Linked DNA regions of Homo sapiens: region 1 is linked to region 2. The links are contacts of gene promoters, found by promoter capture Hi-C in blood cells and fetal thymus (Javierre and others, 2016). All regions are on one chromosome and are shown on one strand. The core of a region is centred on a gene start or on the middle of the fragment in contact, and the rest is flanking DNA. Distances in the headings are between cores, read along the strand shown. Region 1 holds the start of GOLGB1 (golgin B1). Region 2 holds the start of KPNA1 (karyopherin subunit alpha 1).

Region 1 (6,022 bases), core at 2,553-5,052, 760 kb before region 2:
TAAAACTCAAGCAGAAGGTTGAAAAAAATCTTCTAAAGATCATGTTTAAGAAAGGCTGCATCCCAGAGTCTGGATGCCAGAAATGCCAACGACCTTCTTGAAAAACAAGGAAGTATCTTTACGTGATTGTCAAATTGGGTTGGGAGGTCCCAAGGTGTGGACAAGGCTTTTTAAAAACTTCATTCTTTTACGTTTATACTTTTGCATATTTCATATTATACACAACATATTTACAGTGGTAGTCATACACTATAAATAATTAAACACACAACATTTGGGGAGATGCATGCTCAAAAATGTTTTACTGATAGGGAGTGCAATTAAAAGGTTTGGAAGCTGCTGAGGTAGTAAAAAATATTGATGCAGTGAAAAGAAAAACATTAAATGGTCATTCTGTGGTCAAGGGATGAGAAGTAAAAGCTATGAAGCAGTTAATGTACAATGCCTGCAACTTTTGAGTACTCTTCAACTTTTTCCTGCATCTATTCCAAAACCAAATCCTGCCATTTTTCCAATAGGATATTTCCTGAGTTTGCCCCTTCATAACCATTCTGACCATCTAAATCTTATCAATTCACGCTTTTGGAAAGGCCTCTGGCCCTTATGTAAAGAGCCCTCCACTTGCTTGCATCTTGCACAGAACTGTAAAAAGGTCCTTTAAATGCTCAGACAGCTTCCAACTATCTCCAAAAGTGAAAGTACTTACCCATGATTGTAAATATCCCTGTCCCACTCTCAAACTGTCCGCTCCCCATAGACCAACTGGAGCTCTTTAAATAAGTCAGACAAATATATTCCTCATTCCTCAAAGGACTCACCCTCCCTTTCACATTCCGGTTGTGCAGATTAAACATACTCCACACCATCAAACCAAGTTATTTTTCCTCGAGAACTCTCTTAGAGGTTCCTTTTTCTCTAACAGCCTGCCCACCTCTGATTCCTGGGATTTTCGTGTTGACGGGATCGTTGGGATCTTTCCTCTCTTCTCATCTTTCCAGTAACCCATTAGCATTAGCAGGATTATTGGACAGGCCTCCGTTTGCATTAATATCTCCAATGATTCTGTGATCTCCGCCCTAAAGACCTTTGATTTCTTTTGGTCGCGCCTCCCCTTCGGGACACCAAGTTTGTTTAGGGCCTGAGCACAGGGGCCCAGCAGGTTCTTTCCGACGTCAGCGGCTGCGTACGGAGGCCGACTTAGGCAGGCCGCTCCAGGAACAAGGCCGTGCGGACAGGACTGACCTAGGCGCTTTTCCCCGTCGCTCCCAGAGGAGAAACGTACCGGGGAGGGGACAGACCGTGAGCAAGTGGTCCAAGTCTGCGCAGGGTGACCCCGAAGGCCCACCGGAGAGGCCGAGGCTTGTGGGCTACTAGAACTAGGCCTGGTAGGTGAAGGAGGCGGGTGAAGGGCCGGATCCAGGACTGAATCCGGGAGAGGCGGGGCGAGGAGGGGACTCCGGTGTAGCTGCTTGGGCAGCTCCCGCGGCCCCTCTGGCGGGGGTGACCGTTATTGGACTCGCAGAGGGAAGAGTTGGGTAGCGTCCCCTACTCACCTAGAAGCGCTGCCGCCTGAGGCTCCAGCTGCCCCCCTCCCAATTCAAGCCACGTCAGCTCGGGAAGCCCGTACGCGACACCTTCCACCGCCGCGCCCCGCCAGGGACTCAGCCACTAGCAGTTGGGACGGAAGATGGGATTAAGACACCGACCAATCAGGACTATCGGCAGGACGTTACCAGGGAGACCAGGCACACCTTGTTTGTTACCAACCTATCAACAATGACGGAAACCAATCAACGACAGAAGATGCTCCGCTTCCTCAAAGAAACAGCCAATGGACCCTAAAGAGTGAATGAGGGGAGTGATTAGACGCGAGTAGGTGCCCCGGAACAAGATCTGGGGAGGGACAGGAAGTGTCGAGTGGGCGGGCGTTCTGGGAAAGGTCAGATGTTCTCAGTGTGAAGTGGTTATGCTGGCTTCCTCCAATTCCTCCTCTTCGTCGGTTGTGACTGACCGAGACAGCGGCTTGGGCTTCGGCAGAGACTTGAGACTGCGGGCACCCGCTGCCATTAGGATTGTTGAATGAGCTGTGAGAAGGGAGTGGGGGATATGGGACTCTTAGATTGAAAAAATACTGGAGCCTCTTAGTTGTTCGTCTAGTTTCACCTTTTGATTTTGTTGATGAAAAATAATTAACCACAGAAGTAACTTGCCCAAAGTCAAACAGCGACTTAGTGATGGAACTCGGACTAGAACCCGGTGTCAGTATGAAAGAGGATCAGCAATGTCTGTAAGGACATGATTGTGAGAGAGAGAGTAGTGAATACTAGGAAGGTGCCTCTTACAAAGTGGAGCCTAAGCCAGGACCTAAGCAAAGATTGAGAGTTGAGGGCTCAGGCTCTGCAATGAGTGTCAGTGAGGAGCTCCAGCAAAAGACTGAAATCACTCATGCTTTCCTTAAACCCCTAAGGAAAGGGAAGGAAAGTAGCCAGTTTCCAATGAGCTGTCATTTCAGGCACTCTCTTGGCAATAAGAGTAATGTTAGTTTGAATTTATTGAATCTTGCTGTGCACTCAGCTGGCCCATTGTATGTATACTCATCTTAATGATTACATAACTTCACAATTCAAACATCAGCTAAGTAAGGCCTTTCCTGGCTGCCCATCTTACGGAACTGGAGGTCATTATTCTAAGTGAAATAAGTCTGGCACAGAAAGACAAATATCCCATGGTCTCACTCATGTGGGAGCTTAAAAAGTTGATCTCATGGAGTAGAGATAAGTACCAGAGGCTGGGAAGGTGGAGTTGGGGGAGGGAGGGAAGAGATTGGTTAATGGGTACAAACGTAGATAGAAGGAATAAGTTCAAGTGTTTGATAGCACAGTAGGGTGACTATAGTTAACAATATGTTATATATTTCAAAATAACTAGGAGATTAGAAATGTTCCAAACACAAAAATGATAAATGTTTGAGGTGATAGATATCCTAAACACCCTGATTTGATCATTACACATTGTATGCATATATCAAACTACCACACCCCATAAATATGTACAAATATGTATCAATACAAACATAAATAAAATTGCAATTTCCTGCATGCACTATATACTTCTTCTTTGCTTCTTTTTCCCCTAAGCATTTTGCCATCTAAAGTACTATATATTTCATTTATCTGGTATCTCTCTTCTCATTAGATTATAAGCTCCAGGAAGGTAGTAATTTTGATCTCAGCTTTATCTCCAGGTCCCAGAAAAGTATAGAGGAGGGCACTCAATATCTGTTAAATTAATAAAGTATATATGATTATCCTTATCTTAAATGTGAGACAATAAGACTTCAGAAGGTTAAATAATTTGCACAAGGTCACATGGTGAGGGGCAGAGACAGAATTTGAATGCTGCAGTACTTAATGAATACATCATATTCTTATATCCCTGATTGTATCCACCCAGCAAAGTCCTAAACCTGCATCAGTCCAACCATTGGTCTCTACTTCTACCTTTGGGGAGCAAAATGCTGCAGGAGACATCAGGACAATGTCATCAGTGACATCAATGTCCTGACCACTGCACATTCAGTTTCCAGCTGAACTCCATCTTCAGCACACTCCCAAATCCTTCTTGTCTTCAGCTTCCTCTCCTATTTGCCACAATTATTCAAACCTTTAACATCCTCTTTAAGTCCCAACCCCGTGTCTACACTTCACACTCCTAGCAGATGAACTTGCTTCTATCTTAGAGAAAATAGAAGCCATCACTGAGAGTCCTATTGTACTCCCTTACACAAAATTTACCTTTCTACATACTTATTTCCACATTCGACCTTAGAATTTACCTTTCAGTTTTAACAGAATGAAAGTTTCTTATGGGAGACGAGATTAGAATTTTTTCTGTCTAGTAGGTCTTCTTATAGCTCTACCTTCTATTATTGGGTGAGCACAGTATGGTGAGAATTATAGTGAACACTAGGGGTGTGAAGGAAGAAAATGAGGTGGAGAAGTTAAAGAGCAAAACATATTATTTCTAAGTTCACTGAAGGACTGGAAATAATTTAGAATGCAACTTAATGGAAGCAATTTAGGCTCTGAGAGGGTGATCAAGATAATAAAAGATAATTAGGGGTTGCCCCAGCAAAAAAGAGGGTACAGAATAGTGGAGGTAGATGGAGCAGCATGTGCATGGACCATTTGGGCAATTTGACATAAGTGATATGACTGAATGGTTAGGCAAAGAGTAGGTCATAAAATTGTGCCATTTTATGCTAAGGGGTTTGGATATGACTCTAAGCTCCAGAGCAGTTAGAGACTGCAGAAATCACAGAAGTGTGGAGTCATTCAGGTGTCCCTTAGAGAGTGATCATTTCCCTAATTGAAAGTACAGGGAGGAAAAGTTGAAAGACAAGAAATGTCACATTCTCTGTGATTTACTGTTGCCCAATTCCCTCTCCCCTTTTTCAGTTCTTTCCTCATCATCATCTTACCTTCCTCTATACCAAATGCAAACTTATTCCAAAACTTTCATGCAGCCTTATTTATTAATGTATCTTCCATACCTAACGTATCTTCAGCATAGTATATACTCAATAAATATTTGTTAAATAAAATATCCAACATAGAATTCTATATGAATAAATCTTAAAATCTTGGAGAAATAAGAAATTGTCTTGAAAAATATAACTTTGAGACATATCAATTATATGCAAAAATATACAATCACATGATCACATCAACCAATGAAGAAAAATATTTTCACAAGAAGAGGGAAGGTGGGGAAAGAAGAAGAGGGATGGTGGGGAAAGAGGAAGGGAGATGAGGGGGGAAAAAGAAGAAGGAAGGAGAGGAAAGAAAGGGGAAAGGAAGACGGAAGGTGGGGAAAGAAAAAGAGGGATGGTGGGGAAAGGGGAAAGAAGAGGGATGGTAGGGAAAGGGGAAAGAAGAAGAGGGATGGCAGGGGAAGAAGAAGAGGGAAGGTGGGGGAAGAAGAGAGGGAAGGTGGGGATAGGGAAAAGAAGCTGAGGAAAGAAGGTGGGGAAAGAAGAAGAGGGAAGGTGGGGGAAGAAGAAAAATCAACACCCATTCATGATTAAAAAAAAAAACTCAGAAAACTAGGAATCGAAGGATATTTACTCAACTTGATAGAAAAATATTGCAGATTCTTAATGGTGAGAAACTGGATGCTTTCCCTCTAAGATCAGGAACAAGGTAAGGATGTCCCCTGTCACTACTCCTAGGTGACATTATACTAAACCTCCTGCCTAATGTAAGACAATAAAGGGAAATAAAAGATATTCATACTAGCAAGTAATAAATAAAACTGTCTTTGTAGATGGCATGATTTTTTATGTAAAAAATATCTAAGAATAAACAAAAACCTCCTGGAATTAATAAGCAATTTTAACGAGGCTACAGGGTAAAAGGTCAATTGCTTTCCTCAGCAAAGAACAATTGGAATTTGAAATTAAAAACACAATACCATTTACATTAGCCTCAAAAAAAAAAGACGAAATAAATACTTAGGCATAAATCTAACAAAATATGTACAGGCTCTATGTGAAGGAAACTAGCAAACCTCTGATTAAAAAAATTAAAATCTAAATAAATTGAGAAATATTCCATATTCCCAGAAAGCATCAGTATTGTTACGATGTCAATTCTTCCCAACTTTATCTGTAGATTCAATAAGATCTCAATCAAAATCTTAGCACATTATTTTGTGGATATCAACAAATTAATTCTGAATTTTATATGAAAAAGTAAAAGACCCAGAATAATCCACAGACTATTCAAGAAGAACAAAGTTGGAGGACTGACGTTACCCAACTTCAAGACTTACTACACAGCTACAGTAAACAAGACAGCATGGTATTGGCTAAAGAATAGACAAATAGACCAATGGAACAGAATGGACAGCCCCAAAATAGATCCACATAAATGTAGACAACTGATCTTTGAGAATGGAGCAAAGGCAATTCAATGGAGAAAAGAGTCTTTTCAATACATGGTGCTAGAACAACTGGAAATCC
Region 2 (5,689 bases), core at 1,259-3,758:
ACATAATGCGGCTGGGCGCGGTGGCTCATGCCTGTAATCCTAGAACTTCGGGAGGCCGAGGAGGGCGGATTGCGTGAGCTCAGGAGTTCGAGACCAGCCTGGGCAAGACGGTGAAACCACCCGTCTCTACTAAAATACAAAAAATTAGCCGAGTGTGGCCTCATGCCCCTGTAGTCCCAGCTACTCAGGCAGTCTCAGGCAGGAGAACTGCTTGAACCAGGGAGGCAGAGGCTGCAGTAAGCCGAGATCGCGTCACTGCCCAGCCTGGGCAACAGAGCAAGCATCCAAAAAAATAAATAAATAAAATAAAAAATACCATAATGCAAGTATAGTGATTTCAGGTGATACCTTTCTAATTTAGTTTATTCTAGGTTTTCATAAATGTATGTTTTGTTGCCCTACAGGACTGTAAACTCCTCAAGGCTTATGTTGTCTGCTTCCATTTGAACTGCCTTTACTATTTAGTAGAGTGCTTTACAGTTGCTACTCAACTATAATAACTGACAAAATGTTATGCAGTCAATATTTGTAATATTAGCTTTCCCTGCTACACTATAAATTCCATGAGAACAGGGACAGTGAGTTTTGATCGCGACTATATCCCCCCAAGTCTAGAAGATCACTCTGTAAGTATTCGCTGATTGAACGGATTAAATAAAGAAAACAACGAAAAAGTATGAAAGGAGAGAAATAATTTAAATGGCAGTAACTTTGGGTTCTAAGGTTGTTCTCAACAAGAACTGGAAGACCTTAGGTAAGTTACTTAACATTTGATTGTCAATGCTTTCATCTGTAAAATAGAAAAATTAACAGATACTTCAGATTCAAATGTTTTTAATATATGTAAAGCATTTAACACAATACCTGAAAAAAGAACTCAATAAATGTTAATTCCTTTACTTTCTCTTACGTCTCATCTATCCATAAAACAGTGTCTTCCAAGAATATTTCAGTAAAAATACAACAGAACTCATTCTTACTTTCCTTTGAAAAATTAAATTTTCATCTCTTTGATCTTTAAAAAGGAGGGAAAAATAACTTGTGTACTGCTTTCAAAATATTACAAATGCAAAAGCTAGTTAAGACAAAAACAATGTCGAGAATGAGCCTTGCTGGTGGCATCCGCCTGTAGTTCCAGCTAGTAGGGAGGATGCCTTGAGGCCAGGAGTTCCAGATCAGCCCGGGAAACAAAGCAAGACTCCATCTCTTAAGAAAAAAAAAAACAAAACAGGAGGGGGGAAATCACTTCATCTACTAATAGAGATTTTTAAGCAACCGTTTATTTAAGAAAAAAGGGTGAAATTCAAGTTAATATTACTTGACAGTACGTTTCAGAAAAAAAAATACTCTGCAGAGCTGGGTGTGGTTGCCCAAGACTAGTCCCAGCTACTTGGGAAGCTGAGGCAAGAGGACAGTTTGAGCTCAGGAGTTGGAGTACAGCCTGGGCAATATAGCGAGACCCCATCTCTTTAAAATACAAACAAAAACTCGGCAATCGTTTGTTCTGAGTTGAAACCTTAAAAATCAAATATTTTGAACGCTTTCATTTAAAAGTGGAACACGACCCAATCCTAAAACATTACTTCATGACGACTTCCTTGACTCCAGTCATCCTTGTTTCCTCCTCCCGTTTTGAGCTTAATCCGATACCTCGCTGCTTCCCTCGCATCGCACACGCGGCGTGCAGACCAAGTTCTGTCATTGCTATAATTACCACACCCCCGATCAGCCGCTCCAGGCCCATGTTGTTATGACATCGGTAAACTGCAGCCGGCCGTCTCCACCCCCCGCTTCCCCCACCTCCCTCCGGGCCGCCGGCTCCGACCCGGTCTGTAACTTGTGAATTCCCAAGACGGTCCCTTTTTGCCAGGGTTAGAATTTTTACACGCCACCCCTGCTCCTTCCTGCCTCTGTCACAGCGCTCTGCGCGGCCCACCCCCGCCTCCCGCCCGCCGCCCGGCCGCGGCGCAGGCTCCGCGCTCGCCTCCTCTCCGCCCGCTGCCTCGGCGCCCCGCAGTCCCCGGCGCCGCTTACAGCCCCGCCGCCGCGCCACGCCGCCCCGCCCCGCCTAGCCTCGACCGGCGTTCCCGATGGCGATCACACCAGGGCTCCCCACCCCCACCCTCTCCTCCGCCGGCCTTGTGGCCGTTAGGACAGCCGGGCCCGTGACGCACGGACGCGGCGCGAGCGTCCGGCCCAGGAACCCCGGCTCTAGGCCCTGCCGGCACCCGCCCTCGCCCCAGGGCCTCTCCTGAGTCCCTCCGGGACTGCCCGGATCTGCCGGCGGGAGGGGGAGGGGCCGGGGCCGCAAGGCCCCAGCACTCACCAGGCTCAAGGCAACCGATCCCGGTGCCACCGCTGAAGTTAGCCCCTCGCTCGCCCGCCCGCCGTGCCACTCCCGCGCACAACCTCGAAGAGCTGGCCCGCGCCTCGGCGGTGCTCACCAGGCCTCGCTCTCCGCCGCCTCGCACCGAGCAGCGAGACTCAGCTCAGCCGGCGTTCGCAGTGCGCCTGCGTGCGGGGGCCGGCCCGAGCGCCTACGCGCGCCCCTCCGGCGCTTGTCGCAGAGGCTGCCGGGAGACGTAGTCTTGTAACGCTCTCTCGCCGGACATTCCTAATGGTTAGCGCCCAGCCTGTGAAGAGTCGGGGGTCGGGGAGGGGGTCTCGCTAAGAAGGAGGTTTGCAGACCATGGCAAAGGTTGGAGAAAGTTATATGTACAAACCTGTCTTTGCTAAGCTCTTCCAGGGCGGATCGATGCTCACCTCTGTATAGCTTCTAAGTACCTAATACGCGTTGATGGAATGAATGATGGAATGATTGAAGGCTGAGGGAGTATTACAAAATTAGTAGGTCAGCGCCTCGTGTCTAAAGGGCTCACATGCAGCATGAATGCAGGAAGCTTCTGGACATTCCTTTTTTAGTTATCTCCCATCCCCTTTGCTTGATAACGTATGCGTAGTATCAAAAATAATTAAGGGCCGGGCGCGGTGGCTCACACCTGTAATCCCAGCACCTTGGGAGGCCGAGGTGGGTGGATCACTTGAGGCTAGGAGTTTTGAGACTAGCCTGGGCAACATGGCGAAACCCCGTCTCTACTAAAAACACAAAAATTAGCAGGGGGTGGTGACGGGCGCCTGAAGTCCCAGCTACTCGGGAGGCTGAGGTGGGAGAATCACCTGAGCCCGGGGTTGACGGTGAGACTGCAGTGAGCCGAGATCGCGCCACTACACTCCAGCCTGGGCAACCGGAGTGAGACCCTGCCTCAAAAATAATAATAACAATAATAATAATAATAATAATGAAACTACATGAAACACATACTCGTTTTACTCTCAACTGCTCTCAAACGAAAACTTGGAGCAAATGATTGCTAATGTTAAATTTCATGGAATTCTTTGGGGGAGCAAATGGAGTAGTGGCTTCAAAAGAAGAAAAACTGAAGCCAGCCTAGCAGGGATCACGGAATAGTAGACAGATTTAAAACACATGCCAAGAAGCAAGGTGAAAGAGATGAGGTAGATTAATACATTTATAAATGTCCCAGGGAAGAGGAGAGGAGAGAGGACCACTCTACCTGAATCCTAGGTTATGCAATGTTCATTTGTCCTGGACTTCTCTCTGCTGCATCAGCATTCTCCCGCTGATGTTGTGTTTACTAAGATCAGAGTTGAGTTTGAGCAAGGGGGCTGGGGAAAGGGAAGGTGTGTTCAACAGGAGAGACTTAAGGGCAAGTTTGCCTGACCACAGCTAGACTGAAGACAGATCACCTTATTCCAATAAGGAACTAAGACTGATTATTCAGAGCCGGTCTTCAGTCTTTGGGAAAGCTAATTTATTTCCGGTTCACCCTTATTCCTAGCTAGTCCTTGATGGTCCCATCCAAAAGTCTGGGGTATTTACTAGGGCCTCTTCTCTTTGGTGGGCCTTCTAAGCCCCATGAGACAGCCATAAGCTCTTCTCCCTGTTTCAGCCACTGCTTTCAGAGTCAGCAATCACCTTAGCTTTGGAAAAATGATGGCAAATATCAGGCTAACCTCTGGTGGCTTCCTTTTTCTTCCAGACCTTGCACTCACAAATTCTCACTTCCTTGGTAGCTCTTCAGTACATTAACGTTTTTATATTTTGTTCAGTTGTTCTCTGTAGTGGAAAGGTTGATTGAAAACAACAGTAGGCCATTGCTGGAAGTTGAATTCCTATGTATGTTACTTTTACAAAAATGTTATCATACCATACATGGTGTTTTATAAGCTACTGTCTCTCTGACAATATCATTTTATAGTTTGAGAAATTTGAAAGTATAGAACAGTATTTTTTACTGTCACAAACAATGCTGCTGTGAACATTCTTGTACATCTCTACTGTGTATAGGGAAACTGCTAGATCCTAGGACATTGCATCTTTAACCTTACTATATGTATCAGGCAGAAATCTAAGATGGCCCCCATAATCTCTGGTCCCTGGTGTTGCCTATATAATCTCCACCCCTTGAGTGTAGGTGGGACCTTTGACTTACTTCTAGCCAACAGAATATGGCAAAGGTGATAGAATGTCACTCCCATGATTCCGTTTCATTATATAAGACTGTCTTTCCAGACTGGAGCTAGAGATTCGCTGGCCTTGAAGAAGCAAGCTGTCATGTTGCGAACTGCCTATGGAGAAAACTAAATGGCAGGGAACTGCAGACGGCTTCTAGAACTTGAGCGCAGCCTGCAGCTGACAACCAGTAAGAAGCCAGGGCCCTCAGTCACACAACCACAAGGAAATGAATTCTGCCAACAACCTGAGAGGTGGCCTCCAGATGAGAAGACAGCCTGACTTAAACCTTGATAGCAGTTTTGTGAGACCCTGAGCAAAGAAAACAGATAAACTGTGCGTAGACTCCTGGTCTACAGAAACTGTGAGATAATAAATGTGTCTTAAGATACTATGTTTATGGTAATTTATTATACAATAGAAAACTAATACACTAGACATTGCTGGATTATTTCATAAAGTGATTGTACCAATTTGTACTCTAGAAACGGTATATAAGATACTCTTCACTTGCTAACAGTTAGAAATGTCTGGCTTTTTAAATTTTTGCCAATCTAACATATAAATTACTTGAACATAAAAACATGAAAAATAGATATTTACTTAGAATTATGCATTCTGTTGTATTTCTTTTCTGTTGCATAAATGCAATTAAATAAAATAGCAGGCTGGGAACAGTGGCTCATGCCTGTAATCCCAGCACTTTGGGAGGCTGAGGCAGGAGGATCACTTGAACCCAGGAGTTCCAGACCAGCCTGGGCAACATAGCAAGACCCCCATCTCAACACACAAAAAAATTAGTCGGGCATGGTGAGTCGCACCTGTAATCCCAGCTATTCAGGAGACTGAGGTGGGAGGATCACTTGAGACCAGGAGTCTGAGCACACCACTGCACTTCAGCGTGGGTGGCAGAGCAAGATATTGTCTCAAAAAAAAAAAAAAAAAAGCAACTAGTAGTAATAAATAGAGAGACTAATTAAGCAAATAATATGTATGAGAAAAATGCAACAATTTCATAAGGTTTCTTTCTTTCCTCTGGTATAGCAATTTAGCTCTATTGCATATTTGAATTTTGTAGGCTATATCATCCTATATTCTTGAGATAAATAAGTGTAAGAATTTTTTAAAGAATGTATACAATAGAACTAATGAGAT

Evidence for each region. Contacts are between HindIII fragments. The CHiCAGO score rates a contact against its expected background, and 5 or more counts as called.
Region 1: a fragment that was not itself captured here is called in contact with the fragment with the promoter of KPNA1 in region 2 in 1 of 17 cell types (total CD8 T cells); the score reaches 6.3 in total CD8 T cells.

Annotation. Positions count from the first base shown.
Region 1 is chr3:121,748,079-121,754,100 of GRCh38, forward strand. GOLGB1 (golgin B1) reads right to left here and starts at 1,663. Exons shown (of 22, transcript NM_001366282.2): 1 at 1,554-1,663. RefSeq lists enhancers at 1,321-1,370, 1,391-1,630. The HindIII fragment of the contact is 9,962 bases long and covers 1-6,022 here.
Region 2 is chr3:122,512,431-122,518,119 of GRCh38, forward strand. It overlaps KPNA1 (karyopherin subunit alpha 1), which reads right to left and starts at 2,509. Exons shown (of 14, transcript NM_002264.4): 1 at 2,327-2,509. It overlaps LOC107984000 (a long non-coding RNA gene), which reads left to right and starts at 2,599. Exons shown (of 2, transcript XR_924403.3): 1 at 2,599-2,698; 2 at 4,595-4,928. RefSeq lists a silencer at 1,787-2,476. The HindIII fragment of the contact is 3,104 bases long and covers 1-2,898 here.